Linked DNA regions of Homo sapiens: region 1 is linked to region 2. Evidence: promoter capture Hi-C in 16 types of primary human blood cells and fetal thymus (Javierre and others, 2016). All regions are on one chromosome and are shown on one strand. Each heading gives the region's core, a stretch centred on a gene start or on the middle of the fragment in contact. The rest is flanking DNA. Distances are from core to core; before and after follow the strand shown.

Region 1 (4,574 bases), core at 403-2,902, 130 kb after region 2:
AACATGATGTTTTGAAATATATATACATTGTGGAATGCTAAATGTAGCTAATTTACATATCTAATATTTTTGTGGTGAGAATATTTAAAATCAGCATTTTTCAAGATTACAGTGTAGTTATTAACTTTAGTCACCATGTTGAATGATAGTTATCTTAAACCTATTCTTTTCATCTAACTGAAATTTTGTATTATTTGACCAACAACTCCCCAGCACCCCACTCCCCCATCATCCCCACTCTGGTAACCACCATTTTAGTCTCTACTTCTAGATCAACTTTTTCAGATTCCACGTATGAGTGAAATCACGCAGTATGTGTTTCTGCGTCTCTTATTTTACTCTTACATCTCTTTCCAGCTCCAATAATATTCCTTCAGCCCAAAGATTTTTAATATTTTTTGCAGTGCTGATGTGCTAATGACAAATTCTCCCAACTTTTGTCTGTCTGGTAGCATTATTTCATCATCTTTTATTATTTTTATTGAGGTGAAATCCACATAACATAAAATTAGCCATTTTAAAGAAACACTTCAGTGGCATTTAGTACTTTCACAATGTTGTGCAACCACTATCTCTATCTAGTTCCAAAACATGTCAACACCCCAAATAGAAACTCTGCACCTGGGAAGCAGTAATTCCTCTCCCTCTGCCCAGCACCCCCCTAGTAACCTCTAATATGCTGTCTCTATGAATTTGCCTATTCTAGATATTTCATATAAATAGAATCATAATATTTGTCTTTTTGTATCTGGCTTATTTCATTTAACATGTTTTCAAGGCTCATCCATGTTATAGCATGTATCTGAATTTCATTTTTTATGGATGAATAATATTCCATTGTAGGGTATACCAGAGTTTATTCTTTTTTAAATCTTTTTTTTTTTTTTTTTTTTTTTTGAGGCGGAGTCTTGCCCTGTCGCCCAGGCTGGAGTGCAGTGGCGCGATCTTGGCTCACTGCAAGCTCTGCCTCCCGGGTTCACACCATTCTCCTGCCTCAGCCTCCCGAGTAGCTGGGACTACAGACGCCTGCCACCATGCCCGGCTAATTTTTTGTATTTTTAGTAGAGACAGGGTTTCACTGTGTTAGCCAGGATGGTCTCAATCTCCTGACCTCGTGATCCGCCCGCCTCGGCCTCCCAAAGTGCTGGGATTACAGGGGTGAGCCACTGCGCCCGGCCTGAGTTCTTCCTTTCAAGTCAGGTGTGTATGTACCCGGAAGTGGAATTGTTGGATCCAATGGTAATTGTTTTACTTTTTGAGGAACTGCCAAACTGGTTTTTACCATGGCTGCTCCAGTGGACATTCTTATCCTCAATGCATAATGATTCTAATTTCACCACATCCTCCCCAGCAGTTGTTATTTCCCACTGATTTTTTTTTTTCTTGTAGCCATCTTCATCAGTGTGAAATGGTAACTCTGGTCTTGATTTGCCTGCCTCTAGTGATTAGCAATGTTGAGCATCTTTTCATCTGCTTTTTGGCCATCTGTTTATCTTCTTGGAAGAAATGTCTATTGATGTCCTTTGCCCTTTTTAAAAAATTGATTTTTAAAGTAACAGATGCAAATTATATATATTTATCATGTACAACGTGATGTTTTGGAACATGTATATGTAGTGAAATGGCGCAATAGGGCTAATTAACATACTTTGCCCATTTTTTTTAACTGAGTTTAGTTTTTTTTCAGTTGTAGGAGTTATTTTTATATTCTGGATACTCGAATCTTACCAAATACTTGATTTGCAAATGTTTTCTCCCATTCGATGGGTTATCTTTTCACTCTCTGATAATGTCTTTTGATGCACAAAAGGACAAATTTTGGTGTCATATTTAAGAAACCATTGCCAAACCAAGGTCATAGAGATTTGCTCCCCAACATTTTCTTCTAAAAGGTTTATAGTTTTTGCTCTTACATGTAGGTCTTTTATCCATTTTGTTAATTATTGTGTAGAGTGTAAGGATCCAAGGTTATTTTTTTTGCATGTGTATATCCAATTTTCCCAATATCTGTTGGAGAAACTGTCTTTTTCTCATTGAGTACTCTTGGCACTCTTGTTGAAAATTGACTACATACATAAAGGTTTATTTCTGGGCTATTCTATCCTATGGTATCCTGTTGGTTTATATGCATTCTTGTACCAGTCCCATGCAGCTTTAATTACTGTAGCAGTATAATAAGTTTTGAAATCAGGAAGCATGAGTCCTCCGACATTGTTCTTTGTCAAGTTTGTTTTGGCTCTTCTGGGCCGCCTTTAATTTCCAGATGAATTATATCATCAGCTGGTCATTTTCTGCAAAGAAGCCAGCTAGGGATTTTGAGATGGACTGCATTAATTCTATAGATCAACTTGGGAAATATTGCCATCTTAATACTTAGTTTTCTGGTTCATAAACATGGGATTTCTTTTCATTAAATCTTCTTTCAACATGTTTTGTAATTTTCAGAGTATAAAATTTGTCCTTTTGTTAAATGTATTACTAAGTATTTTATTTTTTTTTTTGACACTGCATTAGGCCACTTTTGCATTGCTATAAAGGAATACCTGACTGGTATTCCTATTGGTCTATTGTGCATCCTTATACCAGTCCCATGCTGCTTTAATTTATAAAGAAAAGAGGTTTTATTTTGGCACACGGTTCTGCAGGATATACAGGAAGCATAGTGCTAGCATCTGCTTCTGCTGAAGGCCTCAGGACACTTAAAATCTTGGTGGAAGGTCATAAAGAGCCAGCATGTCACTTCTACTACACACGAGCAGAAGCAAGAGAGAGAGGAGGAAGAGCCACACACTCTTAACCAGATCTCACAAGAAGCCATTCACTATCAAGAGGTCAGCAACAAGCCATTCATCAGAGATCTGGCCCCATGACCCAAACACCTCTCACCAGGCCCCACCTCCAACAGTAGGGATTACATTTCAACATGAGATTTGGAGGGGACAAACATCCAAACTGTATCACATACTATCATATATGGAACAGTTTTCTTAAATTTTGGATTTTTTGCAAGTATATAGAAATACAATTTTTGTATATTGATCTTGTATTCTGCAACCTTACTGAACCTATTGGAGTTCTAATAGTTTAGTGGATTCCTTAGGATTTTCTTTATACAAGATCATGTTATATGGGAAGAGAGACAGTTTATTTCTTTTTCATTCTTGATGTCTTTTATTTTATTGTCTTGCCTAATTTCTCTGGCTAGAATCTCCAGTACAATATTGAACAGAAGTGGTGAGAAAAACACTCATGTCTTATTCCTGATCTTGGAAAGGATTCAGTTTTCACCATTAAGTATGATGTTAACCATAGATTTTTTTTTGTAGATTCCCTTTATCAAGTCAAGATTTCCTTCTATTTCTAGGTTTGTTGAGTGTTTATCATGAAAGGTGTTGGATTTTGTCAAGTGCTCTTTATATATCTACTGTGATGATCATATGGGTTTTGTTCTTTATTGGGTTTTGTTCTTTATTCTATTGATATAACATTGATTTTCAGATATTAAACCAACCTTGCATTCCTGGAATAAATCCTGCTGGTCATAATGTATATTCCTCAAAGGGCACAGCTTTAGACATGCATTGTCACCCTAGGATGACAGTGGTTTTAGGTGGGCTCTCCTGTCTCTTTCCCTCACCACACTCAGCTTTTAGGCTCCACTAATTGCCACCTGATTATTGTTTTTGACAATGCTCTGAGGCATAAATTGTTCTGCATCTGGTCCACTTAAATTTAGGCTCCCTTAAAGGAGTAGTTTTAGAGGTTGGTGTTTGAGAGTTGTTCTGAACCCAGGAGTGACCTTCTTAGCTGTTTCCCTGATTCTCTCTGGTATACTAGTTGGCCTGTGGTTTAGCTTGTGTCTCATGAAGCTACCAGCTTCCTCTTAATTACTTACCAACAGAACCTCCTCCACCATTTTCGAGCATGCCCTTAGGCTTGAGCTCTCCCACGCTGTTTCAAGTCAAGTCAGTTCTTTGGGGAGAGACTTTCAGAGCTCTTTGTTCTGAAGGCTTGGCTTTCTCCCTGAGTAAAATCTCCAGAGATGGGTAGGGACAGTGGCCTATTTCTCTCTGAGCGACACAGCTGCCTTAGCAGCAGGTTGCTGGATGGGGCATTAAACTTTCTTATCAACTTGCCTCTCCTGGAATGTAACCTTAGCCTTACACATGAGCTAGGGCCAGGGGAGATCAGGGCTCCAGCATTCTCAAATGGCTGGGGTGGAGCCTCTGCCCTAAAAGAGGGGAGGAGCAGTACTGGATAGAAGAAGGGAGCTCCTGACCTTTTTACCACACTTGCAACAGGTAGCTGGAGAGGAATGAGAAATGCTGGTGGCCTGTCCCTCCTGGGAAGATACTATAGCCTTCAACTGGAAGCAAGGCAGAGAAAGAGCCGTGTGTGTGTGTGTGTGTGTGTGTGTGTGTGTGTGTGTGTGTGTGTATATATATATATAAATTTTTTTTTTAATACGGAGCCTTGCTGTCACCCAGGCTGGAGTGCAGTGGCGTGATCTTGGCTCACTGCAACCTCCACCTCCCGGGTTCAAGCAATTCTCCTGCCTCATCCTCCCGAGTAGC
Region 2 (4,009 bases), core at 84-2,583:
CCTTCCAGGGTCTGGAACACCCTGCAGGGTGCAAAGGGGGGCGATGGCCTTGGCTGGGCCCTGGCGCACGGAGTGGGTTCGGGATGGAGTCCTGAGGGACCCCGGGGGTGTTGGTTGATCTCGGGGGTCTGACGGGACTGAGACGGGGACACTGAAGCAGGATGGGGCCCTGGCAGGAGCTCTGGGTGGTGTGGGCCTTGGCGGGCTTTCAAGGGCTCTGACAGGATTTTGGGGGGGTCTCTGACTGGATTTCTGGGGAGTGTCTGGCTGGATTTTGGAGATTTTGATTTCTGTGGGGGTCTCTGACTGGATTTCAGGGGTCTCTGGCTGGATTTCGGGGGTCTTGATTTCTGCGGGGGTCTGATTGGATTTCTGGGGGTTCTCTGACTGGATTTTGGGGGTCTTGATTTATTCGGGGTCTCTGGATTTTGGGGGTCTTGATTTATGCGGGGGTCTCTGGATTTCTGGGGGTCTCTGGCTGGATTTTGGGGGTCTTGATTTCTGCAGGGGTCTGACTGGATTTCTGGGGGTCTCTGGCTGGATTTGGAGGGTCTTGATTTCTGCGGGGGTCTCTGAGTGCATTTCGGGGTCTCCGTTTCTGGGGTGTCTTTGATGGACTTCTGTGCTCTCTGACGGAATCTGAGGTCCGACTGGGTTTGGGAGGGGACCTGCCAGGATTTCTGGGGATCTCTGACACGAGTCTAGGTGGCTCTGCTGATCTGGGGAGAGTAATAGGATTTTGGGGAAAGTTTCTGGCAGGCTCTGAGGGAGAAGTCTGACAATTTCTAGACGATTCTGACAGGATTTCGGGGGTCAACTATAAGATTTCCTGGTGGACTCCTTTCAGTATATCTGAGGGGATGTGGTCAGGATTTTTTTTTTTTTTTTTGAGACGGAGTCTCACTCTTGTCACCCAGGCTGGAGTGCAGTGGCGCGATCTCAGCTCACTGCAACCTCTGCCTTCCAGGTTCAAGCAGTTCTCCTGCCCCAGCCTCCTGAGTAGCTGGGATTATAGGCGCGTGCCACTACGCCTGGCTAATTTTTTGTATTTTTAGTAGAGACGGGGTTTCACTTCCCCGGGATGGTCTCTATCTTCTGACCTCGTGATCCGCCCGCCTCGGCCTCCCAAGTGGTCAGGATCTGGGGGGCCCTGACGCAGGGGTATCTCTCCCACAATATGGGGGGGCTTCGCTAGGATTTCGGTAGGGGCTGGGAAGGGCCATTCTGGGAACCTCGCCGCGGGGCAGGGCGCACCTGGAGCCACGTCCTAGTCTCGGGACACAACGGACATCCACGAACGACGAACGGCAGTTGAGTTGGGGGAGGTGCGCGTGAGCTTTTCCCGCCAGAAAAAGCAAAAGGAGGCGAGGGGTCGCGAGTGCGCGTGCGCAGCGTCTGAGCCCCGCCCCTCCCCGCCCGGACTCCTCTTAAGACGCAGGTGCAAACCGGCGGCCGACGCGTGTCACGCATGCGCGCTGGCGGTGTGGGCTGTGGCCACGGAGTTTGTCTGGTGGTGGAAGGAGGGGGTGGCTGCGCCCGCCATGCTGGGGCTCGTGTTTTTCTCTTCCGCTTCAGGCTTTGGTGAAATGGGCTGAGGAAGGGGGAATTGAACTGAGAGACTCCTTGTCCGTCCCCCATTTCTTTCTTTTTTTTTTTTTTTTGAGATGGAGTCTCGCTCTGTCGCCCAGGCTGGAGTGCAGTGGGACAATTTTAGCTCACTGCAACCTCCGCCTCCCGGGTTCAAGCAATTCTCCTGCCTCAGCCTCCCGAGTAGCTGGGATTACATGCGCCCGCCACCACACCTGGCTAATTTTTGTATTTTTAGTAGAGACGGGGTTTCACCACGTTGGCCAGGCCGGTACCGAACTCCCAACCTCAGGCGATCCACCCGCCTCGGCCTCCCAAAGTGCTGGGATTACAGGCGTGAGACACAGCGCCTGGCCTGTCCTTTTTATGTATTGCCATATTTTCTTTTCTTTTCTTTTCTGTGAGATCCCTGTTGAGTTTTGTTAACAAGGCTATGCTGATATAATGTGTGGAGAAGTGTTCTCTCTTTTTCTATTCTTTGAAAGTGCTAGTGTAGGATTGATGTTATTTATTTTTTATGTGTTTGGAAGAAGTCACCAGCCATCTGGACCTAGAGTTTTCTTTGTGGAAAGACTTTAAATTACAAATTCTATTTCTTTTATAAAAATACAACTATTCAGATGTTCTATTTTATTTCTGGTAAGTTGTGGTTTTGGTAAGTTGTGGTTTTCAAGGAATTTTTCCATTTTATCTAAAATTTCAAATAATTTGCATAAAGTTCATAATATTGTCTTTTTTTGGAGGGGGAGAAACACGGTCTTATGTTAGGCTGGTCTCGAACTCCTGCCCTCAAATGATCCTCCTACCTTGGCCTCCCAAAGTGCTGGGGTTACTGGCATGAGCCACCATGCCCAATCTTTTTAATATCTGTAAGATCTGTGGTGACGGATATTAATAATTTGTGCCATCTCTCTTTTCCCCCCTCCCTTCCCCTCTGCTCCTCTCCTCCCCTTCCCCCACTCCCCTCCCCTCATCTCCCCTCCCCCGTACCTTCCCCTCCCCTCCCGCCTCCCTTCCCTTCTGCTCCTGTCCTCCCCTTCCCCCACTCCCCTCCCCTCATCTCCCCTCCCCCGTACCTTCCCCTCCCCTCCCCCTCTCTTCCCCTCTGCTCCTCTCCTCCCCCCACTTTCCTCCCCTCATCTCCCCTCCCACCTCCCTTCCCCTCCCCCTCCCTTTATCTCCCCTCCCTTCCCCTCCCTTCCCCCTCCCTTCCCCTCCCTTCCCCTCCCTTCCCCTCCCTTCCCCTCCGCGTCCACTGCCTCCCCTCCTCCCTCCCCTTCCTCCCCTCCCCTCCCCCCTCCTCTCTTTCTGAGACAGGTTCTCACCCAGGATAGAGTGCAGTAATGTGACCCTAGCTCACTGCAGCCTCCACCTCCTGGGCTCAAGTAATCCTCCCACCTCAGCCTCCTGAGTAGGTGGGACTACAGCCATGTGCCCTCAAGCCCCTGATCTTGCTGTTTTTTTTTTTGTTTTTTTGTTTTTTTTTTTTGAGACGGAGTCTCGCTCTGTCGCCCAGGCTGGAGTGCAGTGGGGCGATCTCGGCTCACTGCAAGCTCCGCCTCCCGGGTTCACGCCATTCTCCTGCCTCAGCCTCCCGAGTAGCTGGGACTACAGGCACCCGCTACCACGCCCGGCTAATTTTTTGTATTTTTAGTAGAGACGGGGTTTCACCGTGTTAGCCAGGATGGTCTCGATCTCCTGACCTCGTGATCCGCCCGCCTCGGCCTCCCAAAGTGCTGGGATTACAGGCGTGAGCCACCGCGCCCGGCATGATCTGCTGTTCTTTTTCCAGCTTTTTCCCCCCAACTTCTTGAGGTGAATGCTTAGGTCACTGATATTTTTAGGTTATTAAGCCATTGATTTTTTTTTTGAGACGGAGTTTCACTGTCACCCAGGCTGGAGTGCAGTGGTGCGGTCTTGGCTCACTGCAACCTGTGCCTCCCGAGTTCAAGCGATTCTCCTGCCTCAACCTACTGAGTAGCTGGGATTACAGGCGTGCCCCACCATGCCTGGCTAATTTTTTGTATTTTTAGTAGAGTCGGGGTTTCACCATGTTGGCCAGACTGGTCTTGAACTCCTGACCTCGGGTGAGCCGCCTGCCTTGGCCTCCTAAAGTGCTGGGATTAGAGGCGTGAGCCACCGTGCTGATGCCAGGTCATGTGCCCAGCCAGGTCATTTGATTTTTAAAGATCTCTTCTAATACATGCGTTTAGAGCCATCATTTGCCTTCTAAAAACTTCTGTAGCTACACTTGACACATTTGTTATGCCACATTTCTATTATTATTATTATTTTTTGAGACAGAGTCTCGATCTGTCACCCAGGCTGGAGTGCAATGGCACAATCTTGGCTCGCTGCAATCTCTGCCTCCTGGGTTCAAATGATTCTCCTGCCTCAGCCTCCCGAGTAGCTGGGATTACAG

What was found. The method cuts DNA at HindIII sites, captures the fragments that hold promoters and counts their contacts. A CHiCAGO score of 5 or more calls a contact.
Region 1: a contact is called between a fragment that was not itself captured here and the fragment with the promoter of KASH5 in region 2, in 3 of 17 cell types (naive B cells, total B cells and M2 macrophages). The highest score is 9.8, in naive B cells.

What each region holds. Positions count from the first base shown.
Region 1 is chr19:49,257,760-49,262,333 of GRCh38, reverse strand. The region is part of intron 2 of LOC107985340 (a long non-coding RNA gene); the gene reads right to left. Among named protein-coding and RNA genes, the nearest start is that of MIR4324, 49 kb to the left of the region's middle. The HindIII fragment of the contact is 6,522 bases long and covers 1-4,574 here.
Region 2 is chr19:49,385,573-49,389,581 of GRCh38, reverse strand. KASH5 (KASH domain containing 5) reads right to left here and starts at 1,333. Exons shown (of 20, transcript NM_144688.5): 1 at 1,255-1,333. LOC101928295 (a long non-coding RNA gene) reads left to right here and starts at 1,501. Exons shown (of 3, transcript NR_110729.1): 1 at 1,501-2,226. The HindIII fragment of the contact is 10,613 bases long and covers 1-4,009 here.